4 separate regions of the Homo sapiens genome follow, and regions 1, 2 and 3 are each linked to region 4. The links are contacts of gene promoters, found by promoter capture Hi-C in blood cells and fetal thymus (Javierre and others, 2016). All regions are on one chromosome and are shown on one strand. Each heading gives the region's core, a stretch centred on a gene start or on the middle of the fragment in contact. The rest is flanking DNA. Distances are from core to core; before and after follow the strand shown. Region 1 has its middle 12 kb from the start of MIR155HG. Region 2 overlaps LOC105372753 (a long non-coding RNA gene). Region 3 has its middle 34 kb from the start of MIR155HG. Region 4 holds the start of LINC00158 (long intergenic non-protein coding RNA 158).

The links. The method cuts DNA at HindIII sites, captures the fragments that hold promoters and counts their contacts. A CHiCAGO score of 5 or more calls a contact.
Region 1: a fragment that was not itself captured here is called in contact with the fragment with the promoter of LINC00158 in region 4 in 2 of 17 cell types (activated CD4 T cells and M1 macrophages); the score reaches 11.7 in activated CD4 T cells.
Region 2: a fragment that was not itself captured here is called in contact with the fragment with the promoter of LINC00158 in region 4 in 1 of 17 cell types (activated CD4 T cells); the score reaches 5.6 in activated CD4 T cells.
Region 3: a contact is called between a fragment that was not itself captured here and the fragment with the promoter of LINC00158 in region 4, in 1 of 17 cell types (activated CD4 T cells). The highest score is 6.4, in activated CD4 T cells.

Annotation. Positions count from the first base shown.
Region 1 is chr21:25,547,860-25,551,461 of GRCh38, reverse strand. No RefSeq gene overlaps it. Among named protein-coding and RNA genes, the nearest start is that of MIR155HG, 12 kb to the left of the region's middle. The HindIII fragment of the contact is 517 bases long and covers 1,564-2,080 here.
Region 2 is chr21:25,509,276-25,512,622 of GRCh38, reverse strand. It overlaps LOC105372753 (a long non-coding RNA gene), which reads left to right. Exons shown (of 10, transcript NR_188560.1): 4 at 78-290. Among named protein-coding and RNA genes, the nearest start is that of MIR155HG, 51 kb to the left of the region's middle. The HindIII fragment of the contact is 4,446 bases long and covers 1-3,347 here.
Region 3 is chr21:25,525,983-25,529,341 of GRCh38, reverse strand. No RefSeq gene overlaps it. Among named protein-coding and RNA genes, the nearest start is that of MIR155HG, 34 kb to the left of the region's middle. The HindIII fragment of the contact is 4,628 bases long and covers 1-3,359 here.
Region 4 is chr21:25,430,122-25,433,449 of GRCh38, reverse strand. LINC00158 (long intergenic non-protein coding RNA 158) reads left to right here and starts at 1,749. Exons shown (of 5, transcript NR_024027.2): 1 at 1,749-2,272. The HindIII fragment of the contact is 1,417 bases long and covers 347-1,763 here.

The DNA.
Region 1 (3,602 bases), core at 573-3,072, 120 kb before region 4:
ATTTATATGGTCAAATTTATTTCTCCCTGATCTTGATCATCTCAGTAGTTGCTGCCACCTTCTACTTTATCGTTCGGGCACCTGTTATTTCTTACTTTCTGTCACTCCACATATCCAGTTCATTAAGAATTGTATAGACTCTACCTCTAAACCATGGCCTGATTCCACCTACATCTGTCCATCTCTACTGCTACTACCCTAGTCCAAACCACCATCCTCTTTTGCTTAGACAATTGTCGTGCTTCCTTCCCTTTTCCTCCCATAATGCATACATAGCCAGGGTGGTCTTTTAAAAACCTAACTCTGATGCCACATTCTTACCTGAAATTCTGCCATAGCTTGCCATAGCACTGAGGATAAAAGTAAACTCCAACCTGATCTGCAGTTTTACAGCATCTGGGTCCCACTTTACCCTTCAGACTTCATTTGTGCATTTTTCATTTTTACTATATTTCAACCGCAGTAGCTTTAGTTGTGTTCCTGGAAATTAATGAGCCTGGCTCTGTCTTAAGAATTTACATGGTAATAACCACGGTGTTCCTTCTGATTTTATATTCTGTAGGCAGTAAGAGGGCAGTTTCTGAGAAAATCAGCAAACAGAACTGTGGGAGGAATACTTTTGCTAACTCTAATTTTCTATGGTAGTAAACTTCCCTGTTGCCAGTAAAATGGAACTGCCCATAGTGGTTAAACCGGGTGAGAAACGAACCATACGTGACTTAAAAGTAACATAAGCTCTTTAATGTCTCTTTACAAATAATTTCACCTCTTGTTGAGGACCTGATGATCCAAAGGAGACCAAGGATAAGTAATGAGAGAGATCTTAGGAATATAGCTTGATATAAATCAGAATCTTGTTCTACCACAGATACCTTCTTCCTCAAAGCAGAGCAAGCAAATATCCACGGTGCCGGATCATCAGGCCCCAGGGCTCAGGTCACCGCTGTTGCCAGTATGGGTCCTCCACTCTAGGAATTAGCATATATTACACAGCGGGAATATAACTGGAACCCCAAAGAGCCGTTTGATGTTCGGAGATGTAAATTATCTTTCTGTTGGGATAACCTCATTTACATGAAGTGATCATTTCCTCAAAGTTTGGTGCCCAAGTGTTCAGTTTTCTGAGTACCATCTCTTGGGTAGTGACAAGATAATAGATGTATTACTAGCTTTCTCTCAATGCCAGTGTAAGGGAATTGGGTACAAACCCCAGATGTTTCTTCTCATCTTCTAATTTAAATGCAGGTTCCCAACGTGATAATGGGAGAGCCTCCTAGGTTTGTGATATAGTTTGGATATTTTTCCCTGCCCAAATCTTATGTTGAATTGTAATCCCTATTGTTGGAGGTGGGGCCTATTTGGAGGTGCTTGGATCATGGGGGTGGATCCCTCATGAATGGGATGGGACATCCCCTTGGTGATAAGTGAGCTCTCGCTCTGAGTTCACATGAGATCTGGTCATTTAAAAATGTGTGGCACCTCCCCTGACAGCTCTGTCTCTCTCTCGTGCTCTACCATGGGATGTGCCTGCTCCCCATTTGCCTTCTGTCATGATTGGAAGCTTCCTGAGGCCTCCCCAGAAGCACGTGCTGGTGCTATGCTTTCTGTACAGTCTGCAGAACCATAAGCCAATTAAACCTCTTTTTTTTTTCTGAATTACTCAGTCCCAGGTATTTCTTTAGAGCAATACAAAAATGGTGAATACACTGTGTGCTCACATGGAGGGTTACAAATTATTCTGGTAGGAAAGGTCTTTGGTGTTTCCCACACCATACACCAACACCACACTGCTAGAATGTCTTTAGAAGGCAATGTCACACACACAAAAGTTCTAATTGAGGTACATCCTCAGCAGGGTGGCTAACTGGATAGGCACTGCCTCACACAAGCTGCTCATCCCTGGAATGTCATACTAGGCTGTGGTGATGCCACATTGTGTTGGCAGTTTTATAACAGGATGCTTATTTTATATCTATCTATCTATCTGGATATATAAAAGGCCATATCTGGATAGGTCATCTATCTGGATATATATTAAAGGCCATTTGTACACAAATGTTCAGGTAAATAACATTAAGCTTGGAAAAATATATCTGAGATCCCAATTAAAAGATAAAGATGGTCTAGACAGGCTCCCACTTTATTTTCTCTGAAAAATAGGCCTAGATATGAAGGCCTGGCCTTGGCGCTCTATCGCTTGGATGCTTTGTCCTATCCCTGGGGTGTCTTTAGCAAGCTGCAAGGACCAAAACGTGAGGTTTACAGTTAAAAACAAATCCCAAGGTCCTGTAGCCATGCTCAGGAGCCAGGAGTTTTTTCTTGGAGGAAAGGAATGGTCAGAGCCTTCGTCTGGGGAGAGTGGGAAGCAGGGTCACTAGGACAAGCCCAGGCTGTCAAGTGCTACCCTGCTCCTAGTCCCTTGCTCTAATGTATAGTTGCTTTTAATTTTATAATTTATTTTATTTTATTTTGAGACAGGATCTTTCTCTGTCACCCAGGCTTAAGTGCAGTGGTACAATCACAGCTCACTGTAGCCTCAACCTACTGGGCTCAAGTGATTGTCCTGCCTTAGCCTCCCTAGTAGCTGAGACTATAAGCATGTGCCACTATGTCTGGCTAACGTTTTGATTTTTTGTAGAGATAGGACCTTCACTTTGTTGCCTAGGCTGATTTCAAACTATAGGCTTAAGTGATTCTCCCACGTTGGCCTCCCAAAGTGCTGGGATTATAGCTGTGAGCCATAGCACCTGGCCAATATATTTTAAACTAAAGTTTATTGTGTGAAAAGTTCTCATGTAATATAGTACTGTATACACACACAGACACACACACAAAAAACTGCTTTATTGATAATAAACAAAATAGCTTAACTATAATAGAAAAGAATCATAACTAAAAATGATCTAAGCCTGAGCTCCACACGAAGAATAAAGAATTATTCTTTATCTTTTATATATCCTACTCAGATAGCAGTTTCATTTTGCATCACCTTATGAATCTTTGATTCTTCAACACCTGTTAACTTAGTGTGTTTATGCTGCCTCTTATGATCCTGGCTTGTTTTAAGTTAAATAACAAGAACTATATCAGGAAGGACTAAAATTTCTAATGATTATAATTTACTGCCTTCTTTGTTCATTTAAAAATATTGCATTGCCACTGTGATGGTTAATTTGATGTGTCAGTTTGACAGTGCCACAGAGGCCCAGATATGTTATGAAACATTATTTCTAGGTAGCTTGTGATGATGTTCCTGGGTAAAATTCACATTGGAATTGGTTGATTGAGTAAAGTAATTTGGCCTTCTCCATGTAGGTGGGCATCATGCAGTCTTTTCAAAGCCTAGATAGAACAAAAAGTGGAGGAAGGAAGAATTTGTTCTCTGACTGATGGTTTGAGCGGGGACATACATCTACTGTCCCTAGATTGAGACTTACACCATTAACTCTCTTGGTTCTCTGTAATCTGAATCTGACAGGCTTAAATCCTGAAGGCCATTGTTCTTTCTTCTTGTATCTCTAACCATTAAATGAACCACTCTTACTAAATGTACATGCCACTTTACCATCATACTTGAAAACTGAATCCACAAATTATTCTAA
Region 2 (3,347 bases), core at 648-3,147, 79 kb before region 4:
TGAATCTGCTTCTTGTTTTTTTTTAATTGGGTGACATTAAATTCTGATTTCTTTCTTTCTTTTTTTTTTTTCTCTAGGGAGTCGTCTCTCAAGAGGACTTGATCTCTGGCCTGTGAACTGCCCCACATGTTTCTTCTGCACATCCTGACTCCCAGGCCTGCACAGGGGACTTCTGCACAGGCCTGACTCCCAGGCCTGACATTTTCTGGTCTGTCTTCGCCATGGTCTGCTATCAACTGCAGTTTTGAATTCTGGTTTCTCTTATTCTTTGTCTCTAGGCAAGTCAACAGGTTAGCTTCTTCCTCATGTTGAGAATTATGTGGTTAAAATGTAGAGAGTTAATCATAGTGAGTGATTGTACTAAGCCCTTCTATGGTTTCCAGCAGCAAGAAAGAATAGATGTTGCTCTTCTGCTTGTTGTTATGCAGTAATAGCCACTATTCTTACAATTTCAATGTTAGCTCACTCAGTGCTTTGTTTTTCAATGAACTGTACCACAGTTAGAAGAATTTAGAGATGGGTAATGAGGAAAGAGTTATAGAGCAGGGAGTGTGAGAAGCTGTGCTCGTTATTACTTTAAATTTTTACAAAGTGTGCAAAGTAACTAGAATCAAGGAGGCCATTTGTGTTTGCAAGTTTACTGTATATATATATATATATATATTTTTTTTTTTTTTTTTTTGAGACAGGGTCTCACTCTGTCACCCAGGCTGGAGTGCAGTGGCATGGTCATGTCTCACTGCAGGCTCAAGTGATTCTCCCACCTCATCCTCCCAAGTAGCTGGGACTACAGATGTGCACCACCACGCCTGACTAATTTTTAAATTATCTGTAGAGACAAGGTCTGCGTATGTTGACCAGGCTGGTCTTGAACTCTTGGGCTCAGCGATCCACCCGCCTTGGTCTCCCAAAGTGCTGGGATTACAGGTTTGAGCCACTGCACCAGCCTAGGGGAAATATCTTTTTTTCTTTTCTTTTTTTTTTTTTAAAGAGAAAATGCCTGTCAAATAAGCCATTGATCATGTGAAAACAGTGAAGAAACTTTTAGCTTACACTTACATACATAAAATATTAGGTAAAATGTTTCACAAAAGTTACAAAAAATTATTGAATTAATAGCTAAGGAGTTTCAGTGGCATGGGAATATTTTATTGTGCAATTTAAGTACTTTATTGAATTCCGTTAGCAATCATGAGTTTATAATAAATGGAAAAAATGGCCCAAAAACACACTGATGATACAACCTTTCTGAAGTGCTAAAATGAACCATTTGATTCTGTTCTATTTTAATGATATAATACCCATTTTTCTTTACTCTTTAATTCAATAGTCAAAGCAATGTTCATTCCTATTAGTTACATTTTTAAACTTTAATTTTTGTTGTAGACAAAAATTAAACATCTAGAAATATGTAAATTCTCTTACTACAACAAACCAGCTTCAAGGTTCTCTAAAATATAACTATCTACCTCTAAGACTCCAAGGCCACATTTCATGGCCAGGAAGTAGAAAGGTATAAAATCTTCAATGGGCTTTCAGTTCATTTTCCCAGTTAAACAGTATTCAGGAAAGAGTTAAACTTTGAAAATGAAACTAATTGTTGGAACATGATCTCTTTGAAACCCACCCAATTGGCCTTGTTCCTTCAATAAACAGATTCTGTTTGGTGGTGGTGAGGTGGCATTTGATATTAGTGAAAATTTGAAATCTTGAGATTTAGGGAGTAGAGAATAGTTGGAACAATCTGCATTATTTTTCTTTTTTCTCCTACAAATCAAAACTGAACTACGGATTTATGAGGAGCTCTCTTAGGCATTCAGGTGAATTTGATTTTCTTGTTCAGTTTCATGGATAGAACTGCACTGTGGTAATACAACAACAGTTTAAGAATATTTGAATAAATAAGTTACTTCAGCAATTGAGCTCCTGAAATTCCAGATCAGCCATTTGTAAAGTAATTTGCTTATAACATTGACAGCAAACTTAATTAGTAAATATTTATTTATTTAACAGATCTAATATGCTTCTTTACAAATGCATTATATTAGAAAGAGAAAGACTTTTATTTAGAGTCTTCTCTACCCAATTTAAAATACGCTCAAAAGATAAGTCCAGGTGATACATTCAGTGGCTGCAAATGCTTAGATTAGTTACTGAATGTATTGCTTGGACTCATCTCACGGATTCTAGAATTATCAGAAATCTGGGAGCAGAGAAAAAATAAGACACGATGTGAAATATAAAGAAATATGAATGGAAAAGACAATTCATTATTTCATAAAATATTAACAGGGATCTCTATTTAAAGAGTTGTTATTTAAGAGGGAACATGAGCAGTAGAGACAGGGGATTTTTAATTTTTTTTTTTTTTTTTTTGCTATGTTGCAGTAACCAGAAGAATCTAAATCGCTTTCCTGTAATGTTTCAAGATTCAGTGTCATATATTTGACTTTAAAGAAAGCACATGTTGCAAAAAAGAAACCAACATGTATTCTATGCTAAGGAATGGAAGGGTTGGTTGGGGCTTTAAGATATGCTTCAGAGAACATTGTGGGTGGGGAGTTTTTAAATGAAGTATCCAACTTGCAAGGCATTCAGAAAATTTTTATCATGACAGTCCCTTGATTTTAGTAACACATGGGATTTTACACTTTCTCTGAGCAATTCAAGTTTCCTTCTCAGAATCTTTTAACTGTTCAGCCTAAATTGTATCATGTCATAAACTGACAATTTTATGGGCTGAAATATAAAACGCTTCCTAAAATACAGTAGAAATATTATTTTAGGAAGGAAAATTTTTAGTAAGATTTGAAAATTCTTATTTAATATTGTACTTTAGCAAAAGACTTTCTAGGTAGGTAAAACAGATTCCAGCGTGGAATGCATCACTTTTTCTTCCGTATTTGGGAGTGTGTATTAAAGCCTTTCTATAGTAGAAGGTAGATAATCAGAGATTGAATTTTGAAATTAAGTAATCAAAATACCTTCTTTTTATGTAATTAAAAATTCAAGTATAGCAAATTGCATTTACTTTAGTAGGTATTTAGAGAAAAACATAGGACACAAAAATAATAATTTGTTTAAAAATGAATTTTAAAAATCTATGCAAAAATAAAAATTATAGAATTTAAGGGCTCTATTCTGGGAAACCTATCATAGCTGGCCATATTAAAGAATATGGATTATGTACTGATTCTCTTCTAAGTAAAATTTTAAAACATACTTAGTATAAACCAGAGTTTTGTTAGATAAAAACCCAGGTTAGTTTAAGAACCTTATAGTGTAACTGAGGTAATTGGACATTTTGAATAATTTTGTTTCCACAGACCTTTATCTTCCTAAAATTT
Region 3 (3,359 bases), core at 698-3,197, 96 kb before region 4:
CCAGAAGCTGAAAGAGGCAAGGAAGAGTTCTCCTATAGACCCTCTGGAAGGCGAATGGCCCTGACAACATCTTGATTTCAGATTCCTCCAGAACACTGAGGGAATAAGTTTGGGTTGTTCTAAGCCATCTAGTTTGTGTTGATTTGCCACAACCACAGGAAACTAATACAAGACCATTGTAGTAATCCTGGTGTGAGAAGTCTCTAGGCCAGCTCTTCTCCATGAACTCTGGATCCTGACTCTGTGACGAATGTCACCTGCATTACCCACAGACCACTCAGTCTCAACTGGTTCAAATGGAAAATAGTATCCCTTCTGTCCTCAAAATCTGCTCCACTTCCTGAATTTCCTATTTCAGTTGACTGTACCTCACAGTTTTTGGAGATGATTCCACTAAGAGTACATTTATGTACTACTAATTCCCAAACAGAGTTAAGTGCTAATTTTTGTTTTCCCACAGGATGTTGCCTATAGATTTTAAATAACATTTATTACATTCTTTTACATGTTCATATGTTTATTTCTTCCACTACACCTTTATATTTTGGAGGGCAGAGACTGTGTTTTATTTGTTTATCTCGTGGTCTTGGCATCTGGCATATTTCCGGTTCAGAGCATATGCTTAATGTGGTTTAATGATTTACAAATGAATAATTCATCTTCCTAGTCACTCAGGGAGAAGTCTTGGAGATGACTTTGGTTTTCAATGCCTCATTAACAAATATCAAATTGGCCATTTAGTTCTATCCACTCTCAAAGTATCTTTTATATTTTCCTCCTACTCTTTATCCTCACAGTCATTGTCTTGGCTTTCATAATTGTTTATTCATCCCATTTCAAAACCTCTTGGTTTCTCCAGTTTTATCTTTCCATGGTCTATTCACCAAGAAGATGAGCTTTTAAATGTGTTCATTTAATTATATCATTTCCTATTAAAATCTTCTGATGACTTTCAAAATCCTGATCTGACATACAAGGCTTTTGATGATTTGGCCATTTCCTTGTATGTCCTTATAATGCATCTATATTCTTAATATGTCTGTGTTGAACTACTTGCTCTTCATTCATTTAAACTATGTATCTCTATCTTGATCACAAGGCATTGGTGATAGGCCCTCAGAAAGAAAGATTTATAAGACATGATTTCTGTCCTCATTGAATTCCTAGTTCAATATCAGAGACAGTAATTTTAAAATTATATTTGTTATAATTGATTATAAGAAGAATACAAAAAATTGGAAAAAAATCTAACCCAAATTGGAAGGTGGAATTGTAAGACACAACCTCTGGTGGAGAGAATAGGTGATAGTATATGAGATATCTGAAAGGATAAATAGGAATTTTTCAGGTAACCAAGGAAAGGTAATAGTTTTTGTCAGTTGGAGGGAAACATATATGCAAAGGGAGTGAATGCCTTGTTAGGGAAAAATGGTTGAGTGTGGCCGAGGTACTGGGTATGAGTTGGACAGTAATAAGACTACAATTAATGGGAGAGGCTGGATTAAAAACTGGTGTATGAGGTTAAGAGGTTTGAATTTTATGTTCAAAGCAGTGGAGAGTTATTGAAAGATATAGCATATGAGTGGCATAATCACATTTGTATTTTAGGAAAATAATTCTATTAGAAATCTAATTAATGTATTGAGTGGAGCAAGAATGGAGACAGTGAAGACTGACAATGATCCAACTGGTCAGTTACAAGAACCTGAATAAAGGTAGTGCCGGAGAGTTACAACAGGTATAAATTTAGAAGGTAGAAACTGTAGTAATTGACAACTGACAGTATGGGTCAGGGAGAAGGATGAAATAAGAATGATTCTTAGGTTTCTGGTTTGGGAGAAGGCAAAAATACAATCTATGAAGGAAGTATTGGGAGGAAATTATGCAGTTAGTTTTGATCACATTCATTTAGTTTTGAATCTAAGATGCTTATCACATATCCAAGTGGAGATATAAGACCCTAGTTGGCTTAAATGATCTAGAGCTCAGAGCATTTATTTTAGTTTTTGGTATATATTTTGGAGCTCACTGGCATATAGGCATTACTTGATGCCATGGAGATTATGTAATGTCTGCTAGGATAAGTATTAGTGTGAGAAGAGAGGCTTGTGCAAAAGTCTGAGAACCCCAAACCTTTTTTTTTTCTTTTTTTGAGACTTGCTCTGTCACCCCGGCTGGAGTGCAGTGGCATGATCTTGGCTCAGTGCAGCTTCCGCCTCCTGGGTTTAAGCAATTCTCCTGCCTCAGCCTCCTGAGTGGCTGGGATTACAGGCGTGTGCCACCAGCTAATCTGTGTACTTTTAGTAGAGATAGAGTTCCCTGTGTCAGGCTGGTCTCGAACTTCTGGGCTTAAGTGATCCACCTGCCTTGGCCTCCCAAAGTGCTGGGATTACAGGTGTGAGCCACCAAGCCTGGCAGAGAACCCCAGTACTTAAGAGACAACTGAAGAGGAAAAAGTGGAAGAGCAAGAAAGTTAGGAGGAAAATCGCAAGGGAGTCAAATCTTTTTTTTTTTCTTTAATTGTATGCCAAGCATTTCACATTTTATTCTTGCAATACTCATGTGGATACTGGAGACAGGCTAGGAGTAGTAGGTGTGGAATAATGAGACAGTGAAACTTTTCTGGAAAACATTTTGGCAATATGGGTTAAGAGCCCTCAAAATGTTCATATTCTTTGGCCAAGGAGTTGTACTTCAAGGTGACTATCCCATGGAAAGGGTCACAAATGCAGTTGGTGCTTTTGTTCATATCTTTAATGGTTGTATTATATACTTTAGTATATAATGTAGCAACATTTATGTAATCACCCTTCACTTATTGGGAGTCAAGCCTTAAAAGCCAACTGAGGAGGAAATTTTGTGATGCCAGGAGATGTTCTGCAAAGTCAAGTGCAGCAGGGAAGTTAAGTAACATAAACATTTTAAAATTTTCTTTGAATCCGGCAACAAAATGGTCTTTGGCCAGGCGTGGTGGCTCATGCCTGTAATCCTAGCATTTTGGGAGGCCAAAGTGGGCAGATCACCTGAAGTCAGGAGTTCAAGACCAGTTTGGCCAACATGGTGAAACCCCATCTCCACTAAAAATACAAAAAATTAGCTGGACGTGGTGACACATGCCTGTAGTCCCAGCTCCTTGGGAGGCTGAGACACGAGAATCGCTTGAACCCAGGAGAGAGAGGTTGCAATGAGCTGAGGTCATGCCTCTGCACTCCAGCCTGGGCAACAGAGTGAGAATCCGTCTCAAAAAAAAAAACAAAAAACAAACAAAAAAAACTTTGATGACCTTGACAAAAGTAATGTTGAGAGTCGAGAAAGATGGAAGTAGAATTGTTTTACAGCAGTGTTTTAAAGTGGTTAGA
Region 4 (3,328 bases), core at 500-2,999:
ATCCTTTGATTATTGTCTGTGTCCACCTGTCAGATCAGAAATGCCAAGAAGTCTTAAAGGGCTTGTGTTTCTCTTTTCCTTCACTATTGCATCTCTGTTGTAGTAAAGTGCTGGCACATAACAGAAACTCAACAAATGAAGGCATTGTCTCAACCAATGCTCACATCAACCCTACCTCAGAAGTATTTTCATTCCTCAATTTCCATGTGCAGCCAGAGAGGTTGATTTGATTCATCAGCATGCCCAAGACTGCACAATCAGTAGAAGGAAGAACTTGGAACTGAAAGCAGGTCATGCTGTTTTTACTCTTCCACACTACATTTTAGACCTCCCTGTTTCTTAAGCTTGGGGGTGGATAACAGGAACCATGTGACTATCCTACTCCACTCCGTCCTTTTTTGTTATTAAATTGTACTGGAAATTTGGGCTTTCAGTGATTGTATTTTTTTCTGAACATGCATTTTTTTTTTAGAAAAATGAACTGACTAGTTTTTTTTAAATGAAATATGATTAAGAGAAAATAATCTCTGATGGGCCCATAACCAGCAACTTTGGATATTTTTCATTAAGTGGAAGAAAAATATAGACTTTGGCAATTGAGACGATCTTCATTAATAAATAAAAGGATTGTTCCAGATGTGCTATAAAATAAATACATTGAGAAGATGTGAAAAGCAAGAGGGTTTAATACACAGCCAAAATTTTAGTGTCTCTATTGGTAATAATCAGAATAACTTGTTTGATTATACCATTGTGATTTAGTTGGATCACATAATATGTTGGTATTTGGCCATTTGGGGCCATGAAACAACATTTTCTTATGGTTCAATCCCCAATAATGGGAGATTTTTCTCTCCCTCCTCTGTGTCCCAGGAAATGCTTCATTTCCCATGAGCCCATTGAAAAGAGGCTGACTTAGGTTGAATTTGCTGACAAGTGTGTTGGTTCTTCTTTCTTCCCCATTTCTATATGTTTGTCCATCTTCCATGTGGAAGCTGTGGACTAGTTAGAGGTAATCTGCTACTTGATCAAAAAGGATAAAGAAGTTCATGAAACTTCAATGACCTCTGTACTTACAAGTCTCTTTTAGAGAAAATGGCCTGAAGCAGCATCTTCCTGCAACCTTTTATATGACATTTACTCACATTGAGTGAAAAAAATGGGTTCAATGGATTGGACCAGAAATCAGGAGGTAAAGTGTACTAGTGAGAAGGAGATGAGAAATCATGTGAATTAAGAGAGATGATCTCAGTTTCTGATTTTCCAGTTCCCAATATATTTATAAGAGGTCTGGGTGTATTTTATTTTTCACTTTTGAATGTCTATGAAGTTGTCCTTTATAGTCTTCCAGCAAAAATGTTTTTATTTGCCCTCATTTGGGAAAACTTTTTTCATCACTGAATAATCCCTGACCAGCACAAAAATTAAATGGGGGTAATGTCATGTATATAATATAAACTCTTAAAGATAATGAAATACATCTACTTAAAAAGAAAAATGTTCTTTCTCTTGTGGAACTTAGGTTTCAGAATGGAAGTGTATTTTATATTGGCCAATTGGACTGGCTGTGAAAGACCAGTAACCAAGCAAGAGAAGTAGATGTTGCTTTAATGAGGTATAAACTATATCTTGTTAAATAGGTCTTATCTTAGACAAGTAGTATAAATGCACACCCAAACATCATTCATTTGCAATACAGAGGCATTTAGAAGTGATTCACATGGATTTTTTCCTTTTATTTTTGGAAAGGATTAATCTAAGCTTCTGCTGTGTATGGACCTGTGGCTACATTACAAAATTCAGTTGTGAAGCTATAAAATCAATTAGTCTAGACCTCAAATCTTATTTCCTATGAAAAGCCTCAAACTTGTAGCTGTATGAACAAGTGTTTTTGGAATTTTTTTTTTTTTGCTAGAATGGAGAGAACACACTGGAGATCACAAATGCATTTATTCTTTTTCACCAACTGTTTCATTGGCCTTAAAAAATACTAGGCTAAACTTAAGTGGTAAAGATCTGAAATAAAAAGATGCATCTTTATGTCTGAACAGCAATTTTTCATAGGTCTCTAATAACTTGCATTTCCTTATCTATGGATAAGGAGATCTGAAATTGATCTACATTTTCTTTAGTAATGTTTTCTCTGTTTATTGAGAACAGATATCTTCATCTCCTTCATGCATTATCCTTAGTAACAGATGTCAGTAGGATCCAGAGCCATTTTGGAACTTTACCAAGGATTAAGGATGAGCACAGATCACATCAAGAGTCTGTAAGAAGACAGTATTTCTGATTTAGACCCATAAAGACAGTATCTCATAATTGTGAGCAAAGATTGCATGTGAAGGATTATATTTGTTTTTCCTGACAAGATGTTGCATACTATGGAATGTAAATTTTTGTGATGATTGGAGAGGAACTGAGCTCCTTTCTAGCTCAGTTTCTTTCTAGCTCAGTCCCTTTCCAATCACCATAAAATGGAAGCACAAACCTTCAACAAAATATATTCCTTAGCTGAGCTTGAGATTTTGCATAGCCTCTCATTTATTCTTTCTAGAATCAGTAAAGTGCATTAGGATTCAGAAGACTCCACTTGTTCTATTTGCTCTCCATTGCATTATGACTTCATCAGGCACTGCTATCATGGGGCACTGGTAACAAATGTATGTACTTTCTAAATACTTACGATGTAGTAGCTAGGTGGCTACATGTTGGGCAAAATGGGATAAGACAATATCATTTTAACATGCTTCAAGTACTATGTCAAGGTCTTACTATGTACTATTTCATTTTAATCCTAAAAAAAAAAAAACACTCAGAAGAAGGTATGATCGGGTATATTTTATAGATACAGAGGCTAGAGTTCAGAGACATGAACCTACCTGGCCCCCTCTGCACATAAACAATTATTAAGTAAGTGGATGTTTCGGGAGTCAAATCCAAGTTTATTTTGTTCCAAATCTGCTTCTCTTAATTAATATATTCTACTGCTTCCAGATACCATTATTTACCTTTAAGTGACTGAGATTCTAATGATACTGGTAAACCTGTTAGTAATAAACCGAGCAGGTTACAATGAAAGAAAGTATAGACTCTAAGAGGCTATAGAGAAGGCACATAAGCTGGGTTGACAGGATGAGACAAGGCATTCTGGAGAAGGTAATTGTGGTGGGGGAGTAACAGGCAACCCACAGTGATGGAGGGCAGCCATATTTCAGTCATTGGGCAGGGAGTGTGCACATTCTGGAAACAACACATCATTTTTGTAAAGTTGGGACCTAGAGTGAAAATACGGGAGTGATTGAGGATGAGAGTAAAGGGTAGGAGC